4 separate regions of the Homo sapiens genome follow, and all the other regions are linked to region 1. The links are contacts of gene promoters, found by promoter capture Hi-C in blood cells and fetal thymus (Javierre and others, 2016). All regions are on one chromosome and are shown on one strand. Each heading gives the region's core, a stretch centred on a gene start or on the middle of the fragment in contact. The rest is flanking DNA. Distances are from core to core; before and after follow the strand shown.

Region 1 (3,964 bases), core at 8-2,507:
CTTGTGTTGCAAATAAAAATACAAGTCAAATAACTTTAAAAGGGCATTATGTTCTGCTACAAATACAATTGAAACGGATTGTTTAGGAGCAGATCAGAAATGGTACAGAATTTTGCACTTAATTTCCTCAGTTATCATTTACAATAAGAACCTCTAGGCTTGACAGCCAAGTCTAAACAGTAGTAAATTAGTACAAATTTATACTGATTTTACTCTAATAATCGTAATAAAAGCTTATAGATTTGGCACTAATTACATAAATGCCTAATGATCTTGAAAATTACTCTGGTTAGAAATATATTACTAATCTAAACTTTGTTGTTGGCTGGCTCTGAAAAATCAGAACATTAGAAATGGTTCGCTTCACTTGTGCAAAGCACTTTAAATTGTTCAAGTAGTTTAACATATTCAAGAGGAAAATAAAGAGCATTTAACTTTATTTACAGCCTTAAGTGGAGTTGGGAGCCGAGCTGAACTTAGAAACTTTGACCAAAAGAGCGAGTTAGGGGCGAGGATGCGGGCGTGGGCCAAGCGGAAGAGCAGGAGCCGGGAAGAAGCCCGGTGAGAAGAGTGCAGAGCGCTCGAACCCACACTCCGCGAGGGTCCCCAAAGCAGACAGCGGGCGCTGGCGGTGCCAGGGAAGCCGACTCCTCTTTGCGCTCTAGGCCCACTGTGGGGTTGGGGCTCGTATAGACCCCAGGGCACAGCCAGGGCGCCTGGACCCTAGGCGCAGGCCTACTGAGCCGCGGCGAAGTCCAGGCGTTGTCTGAAGGCCGCGGTGTGCCCTCGTCGCGCCCTGGGCTGGCGGGCCAATATGAGCGGCAGGCCCAGAGAGCGCAGGTGGGGGCGACCCTCAGGTCACGCCAGGGTCATGGCCCGCTCTGACCCCTGCTCTGCCCCTGCCCTAGGAAGATGTTAGCTCAGAGGCACAGAGCTACGCCTTCGAAGCGCGCAGCGCCGGCCAAGGGGAAGGAAAGGGGAGCCTGGAGAAAATCGCAGGGAAGAACTAGAGGGAGCCGGGCCCAGAAGCTCAGGGCGAGGCCGAGGCGGCTGAGGCTGCTTTAGCTCCTGCTCCGGGCTGGAGCTGCCAGGGCTGCCGCCGCCGCCTCCTTCAGGCGGGCGCAGGCGAGCGGGCGGGCGGAGTGGGGGACTCTCCGGGCGCTGACATTTGCAGGCTGCCCTCCTGATTGGTCCCCTCGCCGAGCTGCTCACGGGTTCATTCAACTGTTAAGCACCTCCCCGTCTCTCTAAAGGACATTATAATGCAAGAAGCCCCCTTTTTAACCACAAACCGAATTTTCTTTCATTTAGGTGATCTATATATATCTATATCGTATAGCTTATAGCTTATATCTATTTTAAATAACTTAAAGCCGCTAAAATTTGGGGGGGAACAGCTTTCGCCCTGGAGCGGTGCGCGATGCTGTCTCATGCCGACCTCCTGGACGCCAGGCTAGGTGAGTGCGCGCCTCTCGCCCGGGCAGCCAGGAGAAGCCGGGGCAGGAAATTGTCAATTTGTTCCTTATTTTACCTTAATGCGACCTAAATGGACTAATTTCTTTAAAAGTAATTGTGCTGCATTAAAGTTTAATTTGATTTAACATCGCCTTTAAAAAAAAATCTATGGAATATGTAGATCCAAGAAAGGAGTTGGGGAATGTTGTTACTTTTTGTTTTTCTTATTTTTCTCTTCCCCCCTCCCCCGCCTTTTTTTTTTTTTCGAAAGGCGATATACCCCGTGATAATTTGTTAGGAGGTGTTTCTCTCTCTTTTTTCCCTCTCCTGTTTGTTTTGATTTGGGATTTCTTTCTCCTTCCCTCCCCCCGTTTCTCTCTCCCCACCATCTTCTTCTCTCCTCCTTTTCTAAGTGTGGTGTAATTTGTAAAAAATCTGGCATAAAGGAGAAGCTGCTGCCATCAAGGCGGATTTGCTAAGTGTGCTGGTTGAGAAGGAGAGAAGCCAAATTCAACCTCACAGTCATCCCCCCCTCTTCTGCAAGGGACTCAGCGTTGCCAATGGCTGTGAGGAATGCGCCTTTTATTTCTCTGGAAAGAAAAGTTGAAATCTCTAAAGTTTGATTCACGGTTGTCCATAGAGTTCACTCGAGTTTCCTTAATGCTATCTGGGTTGCTGAGCTCTGGGTTTCCGGATTGGGAATCTTCGGTGATGGATGTGACTCCATTTTCCAAACACTTTCTCTGATTTGAGGGGGAGGCGGAGCTGATTTGGGTTGATTTCGGGGGGTGAAAGCTTGGAGGCTTATTCATCTTCCGAAAGTAAGAGGGAATCGGCTGAGGGCCGGAGGTACAGTTCGTCAGGCTGCCGAAGCGCAGGTGCCGCAGCAACCGAGGAATTGTTTAATTTTCTTTCTGCCCCCCGCACCCCTGTGTCCAAAGATTTGCTCTCGATTTCCTGGGGCGCCTGGGGTACGGTTTATGGAAGGGATTCAGAGGCATGTTTTATTGCCGGGACTGGGAGTGTTTTATTGTGGGAGAGACGAAAGCTTGTGCTGTTTACTACGGGAGCCGGCTGCGGCGAGGGCAAGGGGCCGGGAGATATTATTCCAACCCGGCTGTCCAAATTCTGGGGAACCCAGCTGAATACCCTGGGAGTTTCTTCCTTAGGACAAGCGCGGGTGCGGAGGGGGCCGAGGACGGGTTGAAGGAAGGCTGCGCGGGGAAGACAGCCCCTCCTGGCATCGCCAAGAAAGTAGTGACCGCGATCCCCTTGCCTCCTCAGGTATGAAAGATGCCGCCGAGCTTCTGGGCCACCGGGAGGCGGTGAAGTGTAGGCTGGGCGTGGGGGGCTCCGACCCCGGGGGCCATCCGGGGGACCTGGCGCCCAACTCTGACCCAGTGGAGGGAGCCACTCTGCTGCCCGGGGAGGACATCACCACAGTGGGCTCTACTCCGGCCTCGCTGGCGGTGAGCGCCAAAGACCCGGACAAGCAGCCCGGGCCCCAGGGCGGCCCGAACCCCAGCCAAGCCGGCCAGCAGCAGGGCCAACAGAAGCAGAAGCGCCACCGGACGCGCTTCACCCCCGCACAGCTCAACGAGTTGGAGAGGAGCTTCGCCAAGACTCACTACCCCGACATCTTTATGCGTGAGGAGCTGGCACTGCGTATCGGGCTGACCGAGTCCCGAGTGCAGGTACGAGGGGCTTGGGATCTGGGACAGAAGGCAAGGACAGGGCGGGAGGATTTGGGCAAAGGGAGCAGGGTCTTCCCTTCCCCTGTCGAGATCCTGGGCTGCTTTCAGGCTGCCTGTGCGTTCCTGTATCGAGTTATCTCCTTCTCTACCCGGAAACTGGTCCCCATCGCCATCCCCCAATGGACACGCAAGGCCCGTCTCCGGCCAGTATAGCGACATCCCGGAAGAAGCTCCTCAAAATCGAAGCCCGGCGTTGTCGGGCTACAGGGTTCGCCTCCTCCGCCTGAGAAGGCAACCTCAGCGCCCCCCCGGGCGGCCCAGCCGAGCGCACACCTCAACTCCTGCTCGCATTATTGACAAATATTACCCCCTAATGAGTTTGTGTTAAGCGTTTGGATAAAAGGAGGAATGCAACAATTATACAGAAAACAAGAGAAAAGAGCAAATAAGGCGAATGAGCGCCTTTTAAAAAAGTGCTACACCCAGGTTTCACGGCGTGGCTTTATTACCTTAAGTATCACCCTCCCTCTGCACTCAGGCGAAATATTCCTAGCTTTGATGTTTGCAAGGGGTTTGAACTTTCGTAGTCTACCAGTGCGCTGGGGGCAGCTGACGAGATTCCCAAAGCCGGTGAGCCCCGTTTTGTTTTGGAGTCCTCTAAGGAAGCTACGGTGGGGGAGGGGAAATGAAGGCTTTCTGTTGTGGATATCATGTCTGAAGAAGGGGCATTCAGAACGGGAAAGGTTGACAGGCAGTAGAGGAAATCATTGCTGACCCCTTATTCTCCTCCAACCACTCTCCAAGCTGTAAATTAT
Region 2 (3,484 bases), core at 746-3,245, 790 kb after region 1:
TGCAACTCAAGACAAACAAACAAAACCCACCAAAACCCAACAGACAAACATAAGACTGCAGGACAACTCAAACAGGAAATTCAGCGAATGCTGGCCAGCTTGTGACTTCTGCTTTCTGCTGTGTACTTTATATTTAACCTCATTCCTTCCTCTACTTTACATCTCGTTCTTTTCTGTCTGCTTTCTCTCCTACTTAATTTATAATATCTTACTCTACTTTGTGTTATCTTCATATGTCACCTTAAATCCTACCTAGGACCCAGGAGAGTATAAATAAACTGACCACAGGACATCTCCACTTAGGTAACACATCAGAGTCTCAGATTCCAAACCACAGCAAACTGATTTTGGCATTTTCCAATCCCCTGCTCCCTTCTTCCTCTACCCCAGAGGGGATCCCCTTTTTTTGCTGCTCCAGTCAACAGCAATACCCTCATTCACCCAACTGCATGGCCAGAAACCTGAGTATGATGCTATTCCTGGCCCCTCTCTCTCTCTCATGCAATCAGTTGCCAGGTTGTATCTCCTCACTCTCTGTTCCTTCCTCCTCAACCCTAGCGCCATAGTTCAGGCCCTTGTCACTTCTGGCCTGAATTACTGCATGAGATCCCAACTCACCTCCTGCACCTACTTTGCTCTTCTTCAAAATTAGCCTCCCCTGCCTGCTGGGAGGCACACCTGAGCTCCTCACTTAACCTCCTGGACAGGCCCTGCCATCCCCTGGCTAAATCTAAACTCCCCGCAGTGTGCCCACCCATCCCCTCTGCACCATCTGTGCCGCACACGTGGCACTGCCACTGTGCTGCCCATTCCTCTGCTCAGGTGCCAGTCCTCCAGGGAAGCCTCCGATGCCCCTCAGCTCCTGGGAGCACTCCGCCTCTGGGTGCCCCTGTATCACCTCATGCTTTCCTCTAGACCTGCACCGGCACTGGGTTGAAGGAAAATAATAGTAGCCAACGTTAATTAGCACATACTCTGGGCCAAGCACCCTTCTAGGCAGTTTAAATGTATTCCTTTATGTCATCCTCAAAAATCCCATGAGGAGGCTGGGGAGCGGTGGCTCATGCCTGTAATCGCAGCACTTTGGGAAGCCAAGTGGGAGGTGGAGGTTGCAGTGAGCTGAGATCACACCACTGCACTCCAGCCTGGGTGACAGAGTGAAACTCCATCTCAGAAAAAAACAAAAAACAAAAAAAACTTTATTTCTCTGTCTAACCCAAATTTTGTGTCCTCTCACCAACTTCTCCCCAGCCCCTCCATCCCTCTTCCCTCTCTTCTTCTGTAGGCTGAGAGCAGCCATTCCAGGGCTGATTGTCCAGGCATGCCCAGCACTGGCCAGTGTGAAGAGGAGGAGCATAGACCACTGCTGTGACTTCCTGGGAGTGGGCTTACACTGGCATCTGTGCAGGCTTCAGGAAAAAGAAGCGAAATCACGGCGTGGATCTAAGGGGCCAAGCCTCACCTTGAAGGTTCTTCTGGGTCTTTGGCCTGGACAAGAACATGAAACTTGAATTTCTCAAGGTGAGGTGAAGGCCAAGCAGGAAGCCAGGATGGTCACCAGGAAAGGAGCCAGAATGAACTAAGTGTTCTTTAGGGCAAGGAACTTACCAGAACCTCTACGCTCCGAGCTATGATCAGGCTGCTCTCTCCCTCTCTCTCTCTCTCTCTCTCTCCCCCACCCCCCCGACCCCTTTGTGGCCAAGGTAAGGCCACATTTTAGAGTGGAAGCCCCAAGGCAACCCCCCACCTCACAACCTCCACTCTTGTTGCCCTCTCTAATCCAACGCCTGCCAGGCTCACACTTCAACCACTAGACTGAAAAGCAAGAATCTTCCACAAAAATAATCTTTTACCTTAGACCTGCTTCCTGTGCAGATGAGATAAGGAGAATGCTCTTGTCTGAATTTCTGGGCGTGGAGATTAGCAAGCCGTTTTCCTCCCAGCAGCTAGAGCGAGCAAGAGGCCCTGCTGTGAGTAGTGCTGTTCTGAGTCTGCGTGGTCCAGACTCACCACACTGCAGGCACGTTTCTTCATCAGGTGGGAAAGCAGGAAGAGGTTTAATTTAGGACCTAAAGCTGGTATATTGCTGAGTAAAAGAAATGGGAAGGCACCAAGTCTCTAACGAAATTGCGCTGGGTGCAGTGGCTCATGCCTCTAATCCCAGCACTTTGAGAGGCTGAGGTGGGTGGATCACTTGCGGTCAGGAGTTTGAGACCAGCCTGGTCAACGTGGCGAAACCCCATCTCTACTAAAAATATAAAAATTAGCCAGGCATGGTGGCGGGCGCCTGTAATTCCAGCTACTCGTGAGGCTGAAGCAGGAGAACGCTTGAACCTGAGAGGCAGAGGTTGTAGTGAGCTGAGCTCGCCGCTGCCCTCCAGACTAGGTGACAGAGCCAGATTCCGTCTCAAAAAAACAAAAAAAAAAGAAAAAGAAACTGCTTGTGATCCAACACTCCCCCACTGGTGCCTCCTCATGGTGAAGAGCAATTACTCTGGCACCAGAGTCTTGGGGTTCAAATCCTTACTTCACCAGTATGTGACTGGAAAAGCTACCTAACCTGCCTGCTGAAGCTTCATGGCTAATAATTCCTCACAGCATTTCTTTTTTTCTTTTTTTTTTTTGAGACAGAGTCTTGCTCTGTCACCCAGGCTGGAGTGCAGTGGCATCATCTCAGCTCACTGCAACCTCCACCTCCCTGGTTCAAGCTTCTGCCTCAGCCTCCCAAGTAGCTGAGATTACAAGCGCCCACCACTAAGCCTGGCTAATTTTTGTATTTTCAGTAGAGATGGGGTTTCACCATGTTGGTGAGGCTGGTCTTGAATTCCTGACCTCAAGTGATCCGCCCACCTTGGCCTCCCAATGTGCTGGGATTATAGGCGTGAGACACTGCGCCTGGCCCAGGAGGAATAAGTTTAAGAGCTCCCATTGTACAGCATGCTATCTATAGTTAATAACAATATATCGTGTATCGAAAATTGCTAAGACAGTAGATGTTAAGTGTCTTTATCACCCCCAAAAAATGACAAGTATATGGGGCAATTAAGTCAAATAGCTTGACTTAATAATTCCACAATGTATACATAAATTAAAACATCAAGCTGTATTTGTATACCATAATATATACAATTTTTACTTGTCAATTAAATAAATAAATACACAGAAAAGGGCAGAGACAGGTCAAGAAGCACAGCACTCAGTACAGAAATACAGATAACAATATATTGAAAGAAAGAATTCAAAGATAAATTTTTTTTTTTTTTTTTTGGAGACAGAGTCTTGCTCCATTGCCTAGGGTAGAGTACAGAGACACAATCACAGCTCTCTGCAACCTCAACCTCCCAGGCTCAAGTGATCCTCCCACTTCAGCCTCCCAAATAGCTAGGACTGCAGGGTATGCCACCACAACCTGGCTAATACTTGTATTTTTTTGTAGAGATGGGGTTTCACCATGTTGCTTGCCCAGTCTAGTCTTGAACTCCTG
Region 3 (3,649 bases), core at 1-2,500, 550 kb after region 1:
CCTAATAAACACCCCCAACCTTCCCCCAACTCCTCTACCCCCGCCCCCACCCCGGCACTCACCATCCTTCAAGTCCATGTGTGACCTGATTCTTCTGGGAGGTGAGACAAGAGCTGAGATACAGAAACTGTCACACTGACCCTCTGCGCTTGCAAAAAGGCAGAGGGTCTATTGAGCTGGTTAACACTTAAGCCGTCAGCTGATGGTAAGGCTAAAAGAGCACACTGTAACACACGCCCATTTGGGCTCCGGGAATCACGGGATCCTGCCCCTGGACACTGCCGTGGGGCTGGAAGCCCAGCGCCCCAGCTTTTGCACCCTGGCTCCTGCACCCGTCCGTCTGCATGCTCCACCTCCCATAAGGGGTTTCAGCAGGCAGAGACCGAACACACGAGCCACAACCCTGTTGCACGTCCTGCAAAGGGCTGTGGGAGGGCGGGGGCCGGGAGGAAATCAGGGAACTCTCCTGTTTCATTGTCACAAGACTTGCAAGGCTTCCTTAAGAGAGGGGTACACTTCCCCACCCACTGACAGCAAGTTTTGACCAATAGAAAGTGAGCAGAACTGAGGCATGCGGAATGTGAGTTTGGAAAGCAGCTTGTGCCAGTCATGTACAGGAGCTAATTGTTAAATTTCCAGGAACTTGGCAAGCCACTTGTTGGACTGTTTGTAGCTTGAAATCGGCCATTGTGGGAGCATTTACATCATAGAAATAGCAAACACTACATATCTGGACTTCCCCCTTCTCCCTCAAAGTTGGTTTACCAGCCCAGCAGGGAGCATGGCCCAGAAAAGTTGACCTTTCAGCCTGGAGTGAAGAAAACTGGTGGAGTACTGCCAAAGCTCCCTGCAGCCACAGTAATTCGCTTGAGAAATGGACCTTTAAGCCACTGAGTTGCAGGGGTTGTTCGTTACCTGAGCATCATCTAGCCAAAGCTGGTACACCATGCTGGTGTTTTGGTGAACACCAATAAGCGCCGCCTTCATCTGTCCCAACCTAGGTTGGAGGGATTTCTTCCAATAACTTGTGACATCATGCGCCTACAGCCTGCAAAGATGCAAACCGCGCTCTGAGACTCAGGCCCGGGAATTCAGGTCTTGGAAGGTTAATGCAAAGTTGTAAAACAATAGTTACATTTCAACCACACTCAGCTATTGCGTCATCTTAAAACCCTGGCCAACACAAATCTGTCGCTCGCGATCCTTGGCGGTTTCAGAGCGACTCCCCTACCGCTTTCGGGCGAAGGCCACACGTGACGGCCCCCCTTTCCCCGCAGACGTGTGAATGCAGCGCTGTGTCTTTAAGGGGCACGCGCGGAGGTTTTCCGTCCGGGACAAAATGTCAGCGAGGCGCCTGGAGGGGGATCTACCATCTCGGACTCCCGACCCGCCGCCGGCTCCGGCCGCGTTTCCCGGGTAAAGGGGTGAGTGTGGGCTTCCAGACTCGGTGGCGAGGCGGGCTGGGCCGGGCAGCGGGGAGCGCAGGTGAGCAGCGACCGCGGACGCCCCTGCCGGCCTCCCTGGCACCCGCGCGGGGCGTGCCCTTCGCTGGGCTGCCCTTCTCCGGGCCGGCTGTCGCGACTGTGAGAAAGCAGGTGGGCCCGGGATTCTGTGGCAAGGCCCCGCTCACCGTCTTCCAGTGCCTCATTCTTGCTCCTTCCCTGCACTCCTCTTTCGACAAGCTTGTTCGGAATGTGGAAATTCGTCACCACTCTCCTGCTCTCCCTTTATTAAAGTTGTCTGATTACAGTCTTTTCACTGGGCAAGTGACTGGACGCCCTGCAGTGGGTTCTTTCTGTAACTGGGACTTGCTTGATGTCGCCCACTTTCGGAGGGAGAAAGCGAATGCAAGCCAAAAGCTTACACCAGAATCCCCACCCCTCCCCCACCCCTCATGGCCCCCAAACAAAAGAATTTTCCGCTCCTTTCGGAGTCCGCTGGAGCAGTTTCTGTGATTTCTTGCACGAACCAAATGCCCGAGGCTTAGCAAAGCAAAAACCCCCTTGAAGGAAAAAAATAAATACTTACCACTAGTCGAATTTCTAATGAGCCAAGACTACAAAGATAAGGTGTTTAAGAGAAACAGTTGTAGAAACAGCTTAATACATTGACCTAATTAGGGTAATTATTTTCTGCTGTTTTTATTCATATGCTGACACCTTTTGGAGGCAAGAATAGCTTGAGGCAGCCAAGAATAAAAAAAAAAGTAGACAGCAATACGTATTATAAAAAGACCAAAAGCCCAAGCCAGGTAATTCTCAATTTAAAAATTAAATTAAAAAAATCTTTGAGTCACAAAGGCCTTCAAAGTAGGGCAGCTTTAAATTCCTATAACTCAGATTAAATTATGCATTTTTACAAGATAAAATGGATCACCACCTTAATCTTTAGGACCATATCTATTAAGCAAAGTAATGCAGACCTGAAATAAAGGTCCACTTTAAGGGCAGAACACTTCACAATTTTCATTTTTAAAAGTGCATTAATAGAGAGAGAGAGTGCTTCTCTGCCTTTTAGCTAATGGTAGAAATATCTAAGAGTTTGGCTTATGCCATTTAGGAAACAACTCTGATTCACCCCTTAATTACCTGTGAGTCCAGTGTATTTTTTACAGTCCACATATAACCTTTTTCTAAATTTTTACACATTTTACCATTTATTCCCCAACTCAGGTTTTACAGTTTGGAGGCATTTTTACTTGTCTTTTAACTTCAGCTAAGCCTTCAGCCTGGTGATTCCAGACTAATTTTTCTAATTGTCTGGATCTCTTTATAAATAGATTAATATATGGCAGTAAACTAATATTTCAACAGAGATGGACGGATAACAGATGAACTGTGGTTTTCTTGACACTTCAGTTGTCAACTCTAATTACTTGTATTAATTATTATGCTCTGCTTTCATTAAAGTCACTGGTGGATGAAGTAAAAGAAAATGTTTTTAGTGTTTCCACATATGTCTGTGTGAATTTCACGTTAGTGTGAATTTCTCATCTAAGATCCAGGCTCAACCAACATATATTGATTTAAACTCTGCCTGGTCAACCCAACTACAGTAAGTAGCCTTGAGTATAGAAGGACAAATAGAGGTGTAGTTAATCTGCTATGTCCTTTTGAGAACAGTGCCTGGTTCTTTGGCCTTTAGCCTGCCAAATATTTTTTATGTGCACAAGCATAAGTATAAAATAATACAATCAACTTTTGTAGGTGCTTTATAGGATGAGTCTCAATATTATAGTCATACCTTGTGTATATGCCCATGTTTATACAGATTATTCATCCAGGTTTTGATCTCTTCCTTTATTCTTTATATTGGTATTCAGGGACATCATACTGAGGAATCTGGGATTTAATCTGATAGTTCATCAGAAGGATAGAACTTCTTCAGAAATTGAGTCAAATGGAGAGATAATTAATGTGAATTTATTGTCTTCCACAGGCTTAGATTTAAGAACTCCTTCCAAATAATGGATACTCAAATGAAACTCAGCTATAGCAAGTGCAGAGGCATGGTACCAGCAACACTACTCTCTCTCCTTCCTTGAAATATCTAAAATCTACATTTGTCTTTTCAGTTTTTTTCACCCTGAAATTACACTCAAAAATTTCCACTGTTAATTTCATGTTAGCAGTGCTTTTATTTAGCTTCA
Region 4 (3,503 bases), core at 902-3,401, 820 kb after region 1:
GTCCTTCACCTGTACCCTGAGAAGGTTGTGATCTCGGCTGAGTTCGTTTCTATGAGGCAGTCTTTTGGAGTGAGGCTTTGGGAAGAAAATCAAACCCCAAATCGGCCCTGCAGCCACCTGAGGGGCACGCAGAAGGACCGGCTAAAAAGCGAGTGAGCAAAGACCCACCCTGAGGGCAGAAAAGCTTTGCTAACACTGTATTTCTTATTAAAATCAATTTAGTTTTAAGGTGGGAGGAAAGCTCCATCTGCCTAAATCAATTGTCAGTGTTACTTCACTAACCCTTTGGGAAAGTTACTTTGCAAGGGAATAAAAGTATGGTGGGGGGAGGATGAGGAACAAGGTGCAATATTAAGTGGCTATAGTTAACAAGTAACCTGATTTTTCCTTATTGTTAAATCAAGTTCGCCTTATAATCCAGGGATCTCCCAATCCCCCAAGAGTAGTAAACAAGAACAAGACAAATAATCGGGGCATGCTTCCTACAGGGATCTCTGAATCATAAAGATGTTGAATCAGCTATACCAACATGTATTTTTTTAAAGTTTGCACATACTAACCTTTGCTCCTGAATTTTAAGTTTCCAACTTTAAAGGACATAGAGGAGAGGTGTCCATTACAGTTTTCAATACTTCCTGGAACTAAATGCCTTTATTCTGATGCTGATTAAGAAAAAAAAATATACCAGCGGTGCACAGTTTTCAAGCTTACACCATTAACACCCTTTTCCCTAACTGCAGAGGGAAAAGAATCACATTCTTCCATCTAATTCCAACCCACTGTGACTTGCTCTTTTACTTCGTCTTTATGAAGAGGAGGATAAAAGTGAGAAATGCGCATTTCTGAGGGAAATTAAAAGCTCCCTTTGCTACCCAGGCTGCCCCAAACAGAGGGGCCTCGGTTAGGATCACAGTGGCGCGATCGCAGGTCAAACATCCCCCACGGCCACAGCGAGGCCTGCTGGGCCCGGAAGAACACACTCCCAGCAATACAAGTTCGAGCACACCCGGAGCAGCACATCCAAGGAACGCGACGGCCGGGCGCAAGTGCTGCTCTGTTCCCAGGCCAGCCAGCCTCTGGCCTGCAGACCTGGGTGGCAGCCAGTGGCCGCTCCGGGTGGCACACTAGGAAAGTCCCGGAACCCCAGGCCCAGAGGGTCAACTGGTCAAATATAAGGCAGGGTCCAAAAAGTTCCGCTCGTAAATCCTCGTGGCGCCCAACGGGCCTGAGCGCTCATTACCACCAGAACCCATCAGGGACCGGCCCTGACTTTCATACCCCGGGCCTTCCACTGTGGGTGCCAGGAGCAGCGGGACCCGGGTGGGTCTCGAACGCAGGGGCCAGAACCCGAAGAAAGGCTTCCAGCAGTTGGAGAGGGACGCAAAAAACAACCTAGAAGGCTCCCGGGCCGCGGGTTCCCACCCACTCCGCCCTGCCCTGCGCAATCAGCTCGCTAACCCCACCGGCCCCGCGGGGCCAGCGGAGGAAGTCTCCGGAGTTGGCAAAAAGCTCTTAATGACTTAGTGTTTACAAAGCAACCAAGCCCGGGGAGGGGACTAGGTCCTCTGCGTACCCTTTAGACACAGCTACTCCTTCCTTCCCTCCCTTTCCCCGAACCCACGCTGGGGCCTGGAGGTGCCCAGCATGACAGCCTCTACGGGAAGTGGGGTCTTTGGGGAAATCTCTGCCTCTGCCCGGCTCCGCTGACTTCAGCTGCTCCCGCATGTCCCACCTGGGTGCCTCCTTGGCGCAGAGACCTCACATCAAAGCCACCAAGGGGAGGCTAAGGGATTCGTAGAGATGGGTGCCGGCAGCAGAACAGCCTTCGCACACCTGCCCGGATCCCACCGTCTGCCCAGCGTGCCCAGGACCCCAGCTCCTCAGAGATAAGAGCCCTCCTTGGCCAGGTTTCTCACCTTGGATGGTGCCACTGCAGGAGAGAGAGGCTGCTAGCAGGATGGCGGCCCCCAGCAGCCACGCCGCGCTGGGGCTCCGCATCCTCCTGGAAGCCCCGACGCCGGGCGCGCGGGGAATCCGCCGCCGCCGATTCGAAACTCAGAGCTCCACTGGACGCACCGAGAGAAAGTCAGCCTCTCACCTGCCCCGAATCGGAGCCTCTGCTGCGCGCCTCCCCAGGGCGGGTTAGGTTTCAGGGAAACCGAAGGAGCAGCGTACTCACCTGCGGGAGGCCACGCCCCGGGACCGGAACGCGCGCCCTGGTCCCGCCCCCGGCCCCCTTCCCTGCGCAGCTGCGCCCTCCGCTTCCCGGACTCGCGCCAGGTCCCTTAGACTGCGGGAGCCGCCTGCGGGCGGGGTTGAGCGCATGAGGTGTCTGCTTTGGAATGCAAATAGCAGGAGCGCTGGGACCACGGGTTAATCCCTGCCTAGGCTATACCGCGAACTACCTTTAATCTTTACTTACTCCTAGAGAAGCGGGTCGTCGGTCTCCCTTGCCTTTCCTGACTGTGGGAAAGCCACGATTCGTACTCACTGCAATTGTGGTTGGTAACTGATACAGACAGGGCTTCCCGGTGCGGTGGACCCTGCAGGAGGAGGGATGCGTTTTTTATTGTAGAGGCAGGTGGGCAACTGCGGACATCACGAAAGCGGTGGGGAGCACAAGAGGCGGGGCGGGAAAGAAGACATGGAATGGCTACTTTCAGCGCCAAGTGCCAAAGCTTTAGAGAATTATCTTGCTTAATCCCCATAACAACCAGCGCAATAAGTATGATTATTCTTCCCATTTTACAGACGAGGAAAGTGAGCTTAGAAAGACCAGATAAATTGGCCAGAGTTACACGACTTATAAACACAGTGTATAAATGTTTATCACATTTCAACTCCAGTATAAGACTATCACTGTCTTCTATTCATCGCTGCACTATAAATGCGTCCACCAGGGCTCCTCTGCATTGGGATCCCATAGGCTAAATAAATACAAAAGCAGATAGAAGGGGTGGGAGAAGAGAAGTGTGGGGTTGGGGATGAGTGCATGAGGGTTGGCATCATATTGGTAATGTCTTACTTTTTGTTTTTGAGACGGAGTCTCGCTCTGTCTCCCAGGCTGGAGTGCAGTGGCGTGATCTCGGCTCACTGCAAACTTTGTCTCCTGGGTTCAAGCAATTCTCTGGCCGCAGCCTCCCGAGTAGCTGGAGTTACAGGCGTGCACCACATCTGGCTAATTTTTGTATTTTTAGTAGAGGCGGGGTTTCACCATGTTGGTCTGGCTAGTCTCGAACTCCTGACCTCGTGATCAGCCCACCTCCGCCTCCCAAAGTGCTGCGATTACAGGCGTGAGCCACCGCACCCAGCATGTCTTACTTTTTATTTGCTTTTTAAAAGATTGAATAAAACAAAGTCTACTGTTACCCATTTAAACTATTGGTACCAGAAGAGCACAGAAGAGAGACATAGGTATTTTCAAATATTTAAAGGATTCGCTTGTAGAAGAGGATTTAGATGTGTTTTGAGTTGCTCCAGAGAGCAAAAATTGGTGGAAGCCA

Evidence for each region. The method cuts DNA at HindIII sites, captures the fragments that hold promoters and counts their contacts. A CHiCAGO score of 5 or more calls a contact.
Region 2: a contact is called between the fragment with the promoter of S100Z here and the fragment with the promoter of OTP in region 1, in 5 of 17 cell types (fetal thymus, activated CD4 T cells, erythroblasts and 2 more). The highest score is 7.9, in fetal thymus.
Region 3: a contact is called between the fragment with the promoter of ZBED3 here and the fragment with the promoter of OTP in region 1, in 1 of 17 cell types (naive CD8 T cells). The highest score is 5.3, in naive CD8 T cells.
Region 4: a contact is called between the fragment with the promoter of F2RL1 here and the fragment with the promoter of OTP in region 1, in 1 of 17 cell types (non-activated CD4 T cells). The highest score is 5.2, in non-activated CD4 T cells.

Annotation. Positions count from the first base shown.
Region 1 is chr5:77,636,006-77,639,969 of GRCh38, reverse strand. OTP (orthopedia homeobox) reads left to right here and starts at 1,257. Exons shown (of 3, transcript NM_032109.3): 1 at 1,257-1,457; 2 at 2,740-3,149. The coding sequence starts at 1,421. RefSeq lists enhancers at 160-714, 715-1,271. The HindIII fragment of the contact is 2,017 bases long and covers 236-2,252 here.
Region 2 is chr5:76,848,525-76,852,008 of GRCh38, reverse strand. It overlaps S100Z (S100 calcium binding protein Z), which reads right to left and starts at 1,995. Exons shown (of 5, transcript NM_130772.4): 1 at 1,854-1,995. The HindIII fragment of the contact is 3,987 bases long and covers 1-2,575 here.
Region 3 is chr5:77,084,886-77,088,534 of GRCh38, reverse strand. It overlaps ZBED3 (zinc finger BED-type containing 3), which reads left to right and starts at 1,250. Exons shown (of 3, transcript NM_032367.4): 1 at 1,250-1,424. It overlaps ZBED3-AS1 (ZBED3 antisense RNA 1), which reads right to left and starts at 1,820. Exons shown (of 3, transcript NR_182763.1): 1 at 916-1,820. It also overlaps a transcript of PDE8B not described here. RefSeq lists enhancers at 1-387, 388-990, 991-1,592 and a silencer at 1,409-1,578. The HindIII fragment of the contact is 2,300 bases long and covers 1-1,684 here.
Region 4 is chr5:76,817,678-76,821,180 of GRCh38, reverse strand. It overlaps F2RL1 (F2R like trypsin receptor 1), which reads right to left and starts at 2,151. Exons shown (of 2, transcript NM_005242.6): 1 at 1,917-2,151. The coding sequence starts at 1,998. RefSeq lists enhancers at 1,200-1,817, 1,818-2,435 and a silencer at 2,123-2,417. The HindIII fragment of the contact is 1,972 bases long and covers 709-2,680 here.